Regions from separate parts of the Homo sapiens genome. Here region 1 is linked to region 2. The links are contacts of gene promoters, found by promoter capture Hi-C in human tissues and cell types (Jung and others, 2019). All regions are on one chromosome and are shown on one strand. The core of a region is centred on a gene start or on the middle of the fragment in contact, and the rest is flanking DNA. Distances in the headings are between cores, read along the strand shown. Region 1 holds the start of ZNF830 (zinc finger protein 830). Region 2 holds the start of TMEM132E (transmembrane protein 132E).

Region 1 (6,081 bases), core at 1,413-3,912, 380 kb before region 2:
GACTCCGTCTCAAAACAAACAAACAAAAAAAACAAACAACAAAAGAATTTAGCTATTCCTATGACATGCTTTCACTTCTATTCCTTTTCTCCCAATCCTCAGCTAATCAGTCTTGTCACCTTGCTTTTGAAAATATAGTTTTCAAATAGCTCCTAGCTTCCTTCTACCCTCCGTGTTCATTCCATTCTATATACTGTTAATAATGTCCCATGATACTTCTTTGCAGATGTAATTCTTTGCTCAAAACCTCCATTTTCATATGAACTTCATCAAAAATTTTCACTTAGCATTCAAGGCTTTTCAAACCTTGTCTCTTGGTACTCCTCTCCATAAAAAAAGACTTTAGGGAAACTAGATTGAGTTAATATATGTAAAGCACTTAGAACCATGCCTGGCCCATACTAAGAAATATATAGGTCTTAGCTATTATTATTATTGCTCACTTTTATTTGAATATGCTGTATGCATTTCAACTCCAGAACACTGCTAATTCCCTTTTCCTATTTGAGTACCTCAATCTCTAAAGGAAGGAGTGATTTAAACTATCAATGACCAGCAAGAGCCAATTGTTACTGCTGGAAAGACAACTTAAATATTCTTTCTACAATAGATAGGACCTGCAAACAAGGAACCCTAATTTACCACCAAATAACAAAATTTAAGGCTGGATGAAATAAATAAAAGATAATATTTTTTCCTTCATTCAAGAAACAGCAAATTTATGGAATGTGTTATTTAAAGAAAAAGAAAAAACCTGAAAAACATAAATGGGTTCTGGATTTAGGGCAGTTACTCTCTAACCCTGGCATATATTAGAATAACCTGGGTGCTTAAAAAACACAGTTGCCTGGGCCCAATCCCAGATTTATTGAAGGGGAAGGCCTCAGACACTTTAATTATTTTAATGCTTCATAGGTGACTCTCATGTGCAACCACATCTGACCATCATTGGTTTGGTCATGTTTGGCATATAGTTTTCTTATGTTTTTAAAATAAAGCACACTAAGAGAACTGATTAACCTACAATGACTTATGTGTTTATGAAGTGTTCTAAAAAACCATACAAAAACCAAAGAAACAAGAAAACAAACCTTTTCAACTTGATGTAGGGTTCAGAAGATACATACATTCCAAATACCACAGTAAGCATTCATCTGAAAGTTTGCCGGTTGGTCTTTCTATTAATTAAAAAAATTCAAAACAGAATACAGATTTAACTATGTACAATATTTACAACTTACAGATTTTACAACGAAATTATACAGTTAAGTCTGTCGTGGAAATGTTGGCATTTTGGTATATAACACTTCAGAAATTTCAAAAACAACTTTACCTCAAAAACATGTTACACAAATTTTCCAAAGTGCTGTAGCTCACTGGCTCATTTTATCTCAACAATCCAGTTTAGCAATCCAGGTACCCAAATCTTGAGGCATGAAGTAACCGCTATACTACTGAGAGACAGCACTTTTTATACAACAGCAGAGGCTGTTAGAAACCTTGGGTCTTTAAAACCCTATAACAATGCCCCTTTCACCCTCCAATCCTGAGACAACAAATCCTGTAGTTCCCCCTCATCATCGCTGTCAGCATTCTCTTCTTCCTTTTTCTGCAGTTCTTTTATGGTCAGGATTTCTTTAAGTTTATTTTTTATTTCATCCTGGCGATTCCGTAGCTTTTCCACCCGTCGGTAACACTCTATCTGCTCATCGATCTCCCCAATCTGGCGGTCCAACCGTCCCTCCTCATCCTCTTCGGCAACTATGGCTTCGGAAATAGTGTTGACCTGCCTCATGGCTTTTTGGAATTCGTCCCACTCTTTGTCCATCTGATCTTTTGGAGCATCAACCTTTCGTACTCTTGCATCTACCTCAGGGTCGTCAAAAAAACCTTCCGGTAACGCTTCCGCGGTGTTTTCTCTCCTTTCCACCACTTTTTCATGTATTTCTGCTTTCTCAATTGACCCTGAATGAGGAATTATGGGGGCCTTGGGAGGATTAGTACTAAAGAAATCGTTTGGCAGCACACTACTTGTTACCTCCCGTGAAGAGGAAACTGAGTGCTCCTTGCCCTGTGCGTCGGAGAGCGGCTTGCTGGCGTCCCCCCTTTTTCTTTCTCCATCTCCTTCCTCCTCCTCTTCCTCCTCCTCCTCATCTTCATAATCGGGGAGTAAACTGAGTCCTGAAGGCTTACTGGGAGTCGCTCTAATGAACTCCTTTCCTATTTTGTCAAAGTTGGTGGTCCACGCAGATGTGGAGGGCTGTACCTGAGGCACCAAGGTGGCCTTCGCTCTCTTGACATCTTGGTCGTCTGCGTCCGGCGCTTTCCTCTTGACGGAATGAGGCGCTGAACTGGCGGACGAACCCTGGCTGGCTTCCTTCGCGCCTTTCAGCTCGGCCACTTTCTCTCGGTGCTGCTTTCCCAGGACGTGAGTCTGCCACAGGAGCTCGCTCTTAACCGGAGTGTTACACAGGGCACAACTCAGCTGCCCCAAACGGTTGTACTTCGCGAATGGAGATTCTATCCGTTTCCGACTGGTGCTCAGACGCTGCTTCTCCTTCATTAACCGCCGCAATTCTTCCTGATTTATCACTCGCTTCCCTGCCGGAGTCCGGGCGGAGGCGGAGGACGCCATCTTGGCGACCAGACCCAAAACGATTCTGGTTTCCGTCGGGCGAGGCATGATAACGTCACTTCCTGTAAGGGCGATGATTGGCCGAGGCTCAAGAGAGCGTGGCGTCGCATTGCCGTTTTTGCTCAGAATCGCGACTAAGGCTTTTTTTTTTTCTCCCTCTGAACGGTTAGGCTATGGCTGCGATAAAGGCCGTCAACTCCAAGGCTGAGGTGGCGCGGGCCCGGGCAGCTTTGGCTGTCAATATATGCGCCGCCCGAGGGCTGCAGGATGTGCTGCGGACCAACTTGGGTCCTAAAGGCACCATGAAAATGTGAGACAGCGGTTGGAGCGGCCATTACGCGGCTAGGGGCCCGTTGGTGTCCTGTCGCCCTCTGAGGCAGGCGTCCGCGTAGCGCTGTGGATGTTCTTGCGAGCTTGATTTCCCTCATTCTCATCCCTGCTCTGGGGGTATTTCTCGCCTGGTGCAGGTGGAGGAGAAAAGCCTCCCCTAGTAGAGGGCCCCGGGAGTGAAGCTGTGGCGCTTCCCCGACCCCCGACTTGTCGTCAAGGTTCATATGCAGTTAGAAAGTCAGTTAATTTAGTGTCTCATTGGAAACAAAGCATTTAACTCCTCTGCTCCTTAAGACTGTATACCCTTGGTCCATAAATTCAACAAGTAGTTTTGTTTTTTGTATGGCAATGTATTGTAGTGGAGAGGACACAGGCTTTGGAGCCAGGAAGGCATGGGGTCAAATCCAAGTTCTACTTGAATACCCCGTGTCTATGGTTGTTCAGATCTATTCATCTTTTCAGTATATATTAAGCACCCTTTTCTATAGACAAGAGTGAGGAAAAGAGACCAGTGAGGGCAAAAGGGTATAAGAGGAGAGACACATCCTCATAGTAATGAACAAAATAATATTAATGGTAAAATAAGTCACTTAGGTACCAGTTGTTGGGACACAGAAATGATCAAGATAACGGTTTCTGTTCTTAAGGAGATGTGGTAGAGACGGATGTGGTAGAGTAGGATGTGCTAATTATATATAGATGCATATAATTATGCTGAAGAAAGGGACTGATGGCAGAAGGAAAAGCATCTTAAGTAACATGTTTGATCAGTCTTGAAAGAAGAATAAGACTTCACTAGTTGGAAGAGGGAGTAAAGGCCTGGGCAAAGTAATTTCAGGAATAAGAAAGACCAATGGTGCAAATCCAACAGAAACGAAACAAAACATGGTATATTAAGGGAACCAGAAGATTTGCTTGTGGAAAAGTAGATGAGGCAGGGAAGATATTGGGAAAGGTCAAGTATGTCATTGCTGTGTTTGGATTTTAACTTGAAAATGATGGAAAACATAAAAATCATTGGAGGACTTTTGATCAGGGAACTGACTGAATCACGTTGCCTTTTAGAAAGAAAAATGTGTGGAGGGTATATTTAAGTTTGGAGATATCCGGATGCCATCCAAAGTAGAGATGATAACAGTGGAGATGGAGAGAAGGTGGCAGATTCAAGAGATATTTAGGTAGTAGAATTGATAGAACTTGGTGATCTAATAAATGCAGGGATGAGGGAAACTAAGTTGAGTGACTGAATGAATGAAAACATTCACCAAAATTAAAACCTGCAGGAAATTTGCGAATTTGTGCTTTGTAGACTTCCAAGTATTCTTTGACCAAACCACAGTTCGTAACTCATCAAGTGCTTTTATCTTTAAACCTGTAAATAGTCCATTTGGAATGAAATCTCCATAATCTGTCCATCTGGGGAGAAATGATTCTGTGAGCTGCAAATGGTGGTAATTACCATGGCATATTCCCATGGTACAGTGGAAGTTTTCCGAGCCCAGTTCCCTCTATTAAGGATAATGGAGTGGCAAGCACTGGGAATGTCTTCCTACCACATGAAGTTAATATCATTCTTCTCTGAACAGGCTTGTTTCTGGTGCAGGTGACATCAAACTCACCAAAGATGGCAATGTGCTGCTCGATGAGATGGTGAGCTGATGCTGCTGACTTTAATAAACCTTAATAAGCCTTAATTAGAAGCATAGTAGAACTTGTGTATCTTTAAGCCAAGGCTGTGAGCTAAATACTGCAGTCTTGAGATATGCTGAAGACTGTTGAATTAGACCTCAATAAAAAAATTTTTTTGGCCGGGTGTGGTAGCTCACTCCTGTAATCCCAACACTTTGGGAGGCTGAGGTGGCCAAATTGCTTGAGCCCAGGAGTTCAAGACCAGGCTGGGCAACATGGTGAAAACCGTCTCTACAAAAAAAAAAAAAAAAAAAAATTTTGCTCAGTGTGGTGACATACGCCTATAGTCCCAGCTACTCTGGAGGCTGAGGTGAGAGGATCACTTGAGCCCAGGAGGCCAAGGCTGCAGTGAATGAGATTGTGCCATTGCACTCCAGCCTGAGTGGCAGAGTGAAACCCTGTCTCAAAAAAAAAAAAAAAAAAAGTTTTTTTTTTTGGCTGTTTCCAAGTCTTTGTATACTTATACATACTTTGTATACTTAGGCATACTTATAAATCAATAATATCTTTTAAGGGCACTGCCTTATGTTCTTTGTAATTATGGAAAAATAAAAATATCCTTTGCAAGTTTAATACATGTATTCATTTTGAGATTGAATGATTTAATCTTATTTTAGAAATGTCATTGCATTCTGAAGCAAAGACTTTTATGAAATGTTCAGGCCTCATTACCTGTCACTTTTAAAATTTTGGACTTGACATTTAGGTATTGATAATACAAAACTTGTAAACTTGTAGAATGAAGCTTATTTCATTTTTTAATTTTGCTACTGACCCCTAGGTTATCTTGCTTTTGGTGACCTACTTCCTTATCTCATCCTGTCTTTTTAAATCTGTTGCTTGCTTTTTCCAGCAAATTCAACATCCAACAGCTTCCTTGATAGCAAAAGTAGCAACAGCTCAGGATGACGTCACAGGAGATGGTACTACTTCAAATGTTCTAATTATTGGAGAGTTATTAAAACAAGCTGACCTGTACATTTCTGAGGTATTAGAATTTCACAGTTTATATGTTATTTTGAATGGCAAATTATTTTTTTAACTAGTAAAATGGTTGAGTTTTAGACAGTTAATTTTGTTTTAATTAATTAATTAATTAATTTTGAGATGGAGTCTCACTGTGTCGCCCAGGCTGGAGTGCAGTGGCAGAATCTTGGCTCACTGCAACCTCCGCCTCCCAGGTTCAATCAATTCTCCTGCTTCAGCTTCCCGAGTAGCTGGGATTACAGGCATGCGCCATCATGCCTGGCTAATGTTTGTATTTTTTTTAGAGACAGGGTTTCACCATCATGGCCAGCCTGGTCTTGAGCTCCTGACCTCAGGTGATCCACCTGCCTGGGCCTCCCAGAGTGCTGGGATTACAGGCATGAGCCACCGTGCCTGGTCTAGACAGTTAATTTTAATTAAGATATTCTTGGACAATTATA
Region 2 (5,417 bases), core at 1,654-4,153:
CACCCATAGAGGGAGGTCTGCCTGCTCCCCGCCCCCCTCCTAGCCCCAGGACCCTACGATTCCGAGAGCCCCTCTTTTTCTTATTCTCTCAACCTTGAGAATGCGCTTTGGTCAGGGTGAAAGAGGCCGCTGGTTAGAGACCTTGGGCACACTCCTGGCGAGCTTGAGCAGGCTCTTAGGGACTGGGCAGATCTGGGCAAGAGCTGAGCCCGGCACACCGAGGGCGCTCCACCAATGCGGAGAGCCCACTGCCCCCTCCATCTAAGCGCCCTCCATTCTGCCTGAGGCTCACCCCTCAGCGTGGAGCATCGAAACACCCCCGCCCCCCAACCCCGCCACGCCTTGCTGGTTAAGAAAATGTATCCCAGGTCGGCTGGTTTCACGTTAGGAGGGAGCAGAGGGCCCCGCTTCTCCACTCTCCTTTCGGAGCTCTCTCCCTCCCACCTCGGTCTGCTCCCCTCGCCTCCTGGAGCGTCTCCAGCTTGCGGAAGGCCCGCTGCAGCCTCCTTCCCTCTGGTCTGATTTCCCATTCTTGGGGGCTGTTCAAAAACCCGCTGCCCCCCACCCGTATGCCCGCTGTCCCACCGCCAAAGCGCGCCAACCTCAATCCCTCCTTCTCCCACCCCCTTTACCGCGGAGCCCGGGGCGAGCCTGGGGAGCAGACGCAACAGATTGCAGAATGCGAGAGCGCGGAGCCCGCTCCCTCCGCGCGCGGCCCGCGGCCCACCGCCCCGGCCTGTGCGGGTGCCCAGACCCCCGCCCTCCGGGCTCGCCTAAGCCGGCCATTTAGATGCAGCTCACAGGACCGCGGGCGTGCGAGCCGCGGCGGCTCCCCGGCCCGGAGTCAGTCCACTTCCCTTCCCGAGGACCGCCGCAGGAAGCGAGGCGACGGGCGGCGCGGCCCCGCACCGGCCTGCGCGCCCGGGGCGAGGAAAGACGCGATCCCGGCGGATCCCAACAGCCCCCAGCCCGGCCGGCTGCAGGGAGAGACGGGGGCGGGGGGCGGCCTGGACGCGATCCGGAGGATCCCTCGGATCCCTCTAGATTTCCGTGGGCGGACACGACCCCAGACCTTCGGGTTCGAACCCTTCTTTATAACCAGGAGAGGACTGGAGCGACACCCTCCCCCCACCCTTTTCTGGCGCCGGGCTCGGTCCCCTCAGCTGAGCTCGCCGGAGGGCTCGGGGGCTGGCGGTAACTCGAGCTGCAGCCAGAGACGCCAAACCCGGAGTGGCGGCTGCGAGTCCAGGGGGTGTGGGTGCTCCTCTCCCCAGTCTTCCCCGTACCCCCTCCAGTGGCGCCTGCCGCATCCTCACCCCCAGTCCGCGCCGCGACACTTACCGTGGGCGAGTAGCGCTGAGAGGCAGAGCAGGGCGGCGCCGCCGCGGCCCGACATCCCCGGGGCCATGGCCGAGGCGGGGGCGGGAGGGGTCCGAGAGAGCAACAGTCGACGACGACTTGGCCCCAGGCTGGGCTTGGTCACATCCAACTCAGGGCTGCCGTGGCGCCCGGCTGTCTCAGATGCAGCTCCGGGACCAGAGAGTGCAATTCGGGGACACTTTGCGGGGAGGGGGCGTCCCAGGCGCTGGCGGCTACACCCTCGGAGCCGGTGGGGGCGCAGCTCCGGGCGGGAGGAGCCTCCACCTCCCCCAGCTGGTGCCCCCTGCAGGATCTGCGAGGCGCGGGGGGAGCTGCACGTGCAGTCCGGAGCCCGGTGGCCGCGGGCGTCCCGGGGGCTACCTAGAGCCCAGTGCTGAATCTCCCGGCCTCACGGCCCAGCTCGAATCCGAACTCACTCGAGGGTGCCGACTTCCAACGCAATCCCCAGTTTCCTCGGTTTCGGTAGTAACCGCACATGGATAGCGCCGCTTTCTTCCTCCAAGCCCCTGCAGCAGCCCAGCATAAAAATCCCAGGTCAGGTGCAAATGAATGCTGTCTTTCTCAAAGAAAGAGAAAATCCAGACAACTTTAATCCATCTGGAGAAGGAAAAGTTTCCGTGCGGTGCTGAAACTGGCGACGCCGGTCGCCACCACCCTAGGCGACGCCCAGACCGGATGCCCGAGGCGGGCGGCCAGATGTTTGTCCCCTCGCAAGGCTCGCTCCTCCGCTCCAGCGCGCTTTCTCCAGTCTGGATCAGGGCCCAGGCTCCACACAGGCCGGCTCAGCGCCTCCTGCCCAGGCAGCCGCTCGGCGGCTGGGGCAAGGGTGGCGCGGCCAGAACGGGCTGCCCCATGTAGATGGGGCTTGGAGAAGCGAGGGAGCGAGAAAGCCGGCTAATGCGCCCTGCCCCGAGCCCTTCCTGCCCAGGACGTCGACTCCAGCTTGATGACCATAAACGCTGTAAGATGCAGAGGGGCTCCTGCAGCTCACGGCAGCTCCGGGCCACCCCGCTAAGGTCTCGCTGTCTCGGCAGAGAGGCGCGCTGCCCCGCCTCGCTCCTCGCCTTCCCTGGGGGAACCTGCACAAACCTTGAACTTTTCTGGGGTTCAGAGTCTCCGACGCCTCCTCCCCGCCGCCCCCACCCTGTCCCCGGACGCCCGTTCGCCCGCTGTCTCGATGCTGCCGGGCATCGGCTCCCGCTCCCTCCGAGTCAGTTTGGGCGAGCGGATCGCCGCGCCAGTCCGGGCTGCGGGCGGTGAGACGCGGGCGCGGCGCCAGGGGCCAGGGCAGCCGGCACCTGCGCAGCTTGCGGCCAGGGAAGCGGCAGCTGGTGCCTACGGGGCCGAGAGGAGAGGAGGTGCTGGCAGGGGAGCCGGCTCCCCATGGACGTGTGTGGGGGAAGAAGAAGAATCGAGGAGCAAAAAGGAAGAGGAGGTGGGGGAAGCCACAGTTGCACGAAGCAGCCGCCGCCGCCGTCGCCGCCTCCTCGGCGCTCGCGCCGGCTGCTCCGCCGTAAATGACTCGAGAGAGACACACACACTCGCGCTCGCCCGCCCTCCTCCTCCGTCCGGGATTCAGCGCCCACCCGGGCAGAAGCGGGCGCCGAGCTTGGCGCGCTCACTCCCACCCCTCCCAGATTCCCCGTGGTCACGTGGCCCCCGAGCGCGCGGCCCACAGCTCGCGCGCCACGGAGACTCCCCGACTCCTAGCTCCCCCTCCTCTGTCCACGTGTCCATTCCGCATTCCTAGCCTGGCGGCGCGCGCGGCTCCTTAATGAGACTCGGGCCAAGGGCCGACCTCGCGATTCCGCTCGCCCCTATTTTATGTTTGATTTTTCCTTCCCAACGCCGGCTAGCGCTGGGACCCGAATGGGGCCGGCCAGCTGCGGCGGGAGGAGCCTCCACCTCCCTCAGCTGCGTTTCTCCAGGGTAGACGCCACCGCAGTCACTGATGTCCCTTTTCAAAGGATGCACGCTCCCCACCGGGCGCCGGAGGTGTTTTGCAGCCGCTCTTCCAGAGGCGCGGGTAGGGGGCACCCTACCCCCACCCCCAGAGTTCGCTGGGCACTGGCTGGGAATCAGCCTCGCTGCTGTGCCCAGCTCCTCTCGGGCCGCGGGGGCTCTGGGGCTCAGCTTCGTGCGGGATGGGTCCGGGGCGCAGCTGTGGGAAACCTATTTATTCTGTTGCTGGGGAAGGAAGACGGAGAAGAGGAGGGGACAGTGCTTTCCTACAGGTTGTTTAGCAAGCCTTTAAAGAGGCATGAGGTGGGGGTGGGGAACTGCCCCTCTTGCATACTCACCCAGGCACCTGCTGACTAGCGGGAGGGGTGGCTGGAGTGATATCTGTTCCCACCATCAGGCCCTTTCCATTAGAGTGCAACCTAGATCAGACCCGGCAAGTCAACCTTCACACCTCATCTGTCAACCAGGCATCGGATCCATGGCAATGATTTTATAGCTTCGTTGGGTATCAACTCCAATCCCCAGAGGGTGAATTTCAATCCTACCCTGCTCTGGAGGGACAGGGTCTTCAATCCCATGGACATATCCCTACTGGGGAGGATATGGATCTTGAGGGTCACCCTTCCATACCTCTGCACTCAACTGGAGTGAGAGTGTGGGGCCAGGTCAGAGCAAAGCCAGCTGGGGCACTCAAACCGTGCCCTCCATCTGCCTGACTCCATGCTAGCCCTCTTGACCCTGAGAGTTTCCTTTCATCTAGGACGGTGACATTTTGTTTTTGGAAAATGTGCTTGCATTTTTCATGGAAGGCTTCCTCCTCCCTGGCTGCTGGCTGTTGCTGCCTCGCTTGGTACTGGGGCCTGTAGAGGGCTGCTCTGGCCCTTCCCCCACCCCTACATCTGTCTGGAGCTGGGGGGAGGTGCAGCCTGAGGAGAGCTGGCCAGCTCTTGGAGGCCCTGGGGATAGAAGGTGCTGGAGTCGTCAAAGAAGATTATTCTCATTAGGCCCCTAATGCCTGATGGCAATTAATGTCACCCAAGGGCTTATTCACCAACCCCCTGAGAAGCAAGCTAGCAATCAGGCTCTGTGTGGGGGAGAAAGGGGGAAAGATCCACCTCCTGAGGCAGAGGAGGGCTTCAGGAAGAGGAGGAAGGAAGCAGGGAGGGCCCTCCATCCCTGCCCAGCACCCCATCAGAAGGGTCATGGAGCCTGAGCATGGCCAGAAGGAAGAGACAAGGTGCTTTTCTGAGCCCAAGACACACCTTACCCTGTGTTGTGGATCAAATTTCCTTTCTCCTCAAATGTTCCCAGTTGACGCTAGGGTCTGAGGGGCAGCAATGTTGCATCTCTCCCAGCCATCTGTGGAAATAGCACAGTGTTCTGGTCAGGGTGGGCAGGGACTCAGACATAGAATTCTTCTCTCTGCAACCCCATCTCACCCCACCCCATAGCTCTTATGTGACCTTCCTTTGTGATTCAGTTTCTCCTCCTCCCTCCCTGTCTCTGTCCCTCCCTTTCACAGTAGTATGGTGCATATCTCCAACATCACAGGCATTGTAGGTACAACAGTGAGCAGGACAAAACCAGCTCTTGTCCTCATGGAACTAACTTTCTAGAGGGGAAGGCAGACACTAAGCTTCTAATTGCTTGCAATTGTGGTGTGATTTGGCATCATGCACTTCGCTCATCTTATGGAGAAGACTGAGGCCTGTGGTTGGAAAGGGCGAGGGAGCAGCCTGCTATCTTTAGAGAACACAGTTTCAGCCTCAAGTTCTTCCTGTACCTCCGATATGGATCTACCCTTCCTGGATTGAAGCCTTGTGCCAAGTCCATGGGCCTGATGATCCTCTGACTCTCCAAATGCCAGATTTTCCTCCTCCTTGCCTCAGGGAAGTGAAGGGCAGCCGATAGCCCACCTGGAGAATAAAATATGACTACAACCTGCAGTGCTCCATGGACCTGTCATTCTCAGCAGTGTAAATCCTACTGCTCAGAGAGAAGGCAGTTGGCACAAGGTAGACAGCCAGTTGTTTCAGCTATTCCAATCCTGCATGTCATTTACCTGGAAAGGGGTT

The links. Contacts are between HindIII fragments. The study calls those that stand out against the background at their distance.
Region 1: a contact is called between the fragment with the promoter of ZNF830 here and the fragment with the promoter of TMEM132E in region 2, in 3 of the 25 tissues and cell types used here (bladder, mesendoderm cells and thymus).

What each region holds. Positions count from the first base shown.
Region 1 is chr17:34,958,121-34,964,201 of GRCh38, reverse strand. It overlaps ZNF830 (zinc finger protein 830), which reads right to left and starts at 2,662. Exons shown (of 1, transcript NM_052857.4): 1 at 425-2,662. The coding sequence starts at 2,635. The coding sequence ends at 1,517. It overlaps CCT6B (chaperonin containing TCP1 subunit 6B), which reads left to right and starts at 2,742. Exons shown (of 14, transcript NM_006584.4): 1 at 2,742-2,945; 2 at 4,552-4,615; 3 at 5,508-5,642. The coding sequence starts at 2,809. RefSeq lists enhancers at 2,369-2,618, 2,699-2,778, 2,829-3,048, 3,149-3,198 and a silencer at 2,918-3,212. The HindIII fragment of the contact is 13,629 bases long and covers 1-6,081 here.
Region 2 is chr17:34,577,068-34,582,484 of GRCh38, reverse strand. TMEM132E (transmembrane protein 132E) reads right to left here and starts at 2,903. Exons shown (of 9, transcript NM_001304438.2): 1 at 1,342-2,903. The coding sequence starts at 1,408. It overlaps TMEM132E-DT (TMEM132E divergent transcript), which reads left to right and starts at 3,116. Exons shown (of 2, transcript NR_160787.1): 1 at 3,116-3,614; 2 at 4,865-5,417. RefSeq lists enhancers at 2,879-3,414, 3,415-3,951. The HindIII fragment of the contact is 28,166 bases long and covers 1-5,417 here.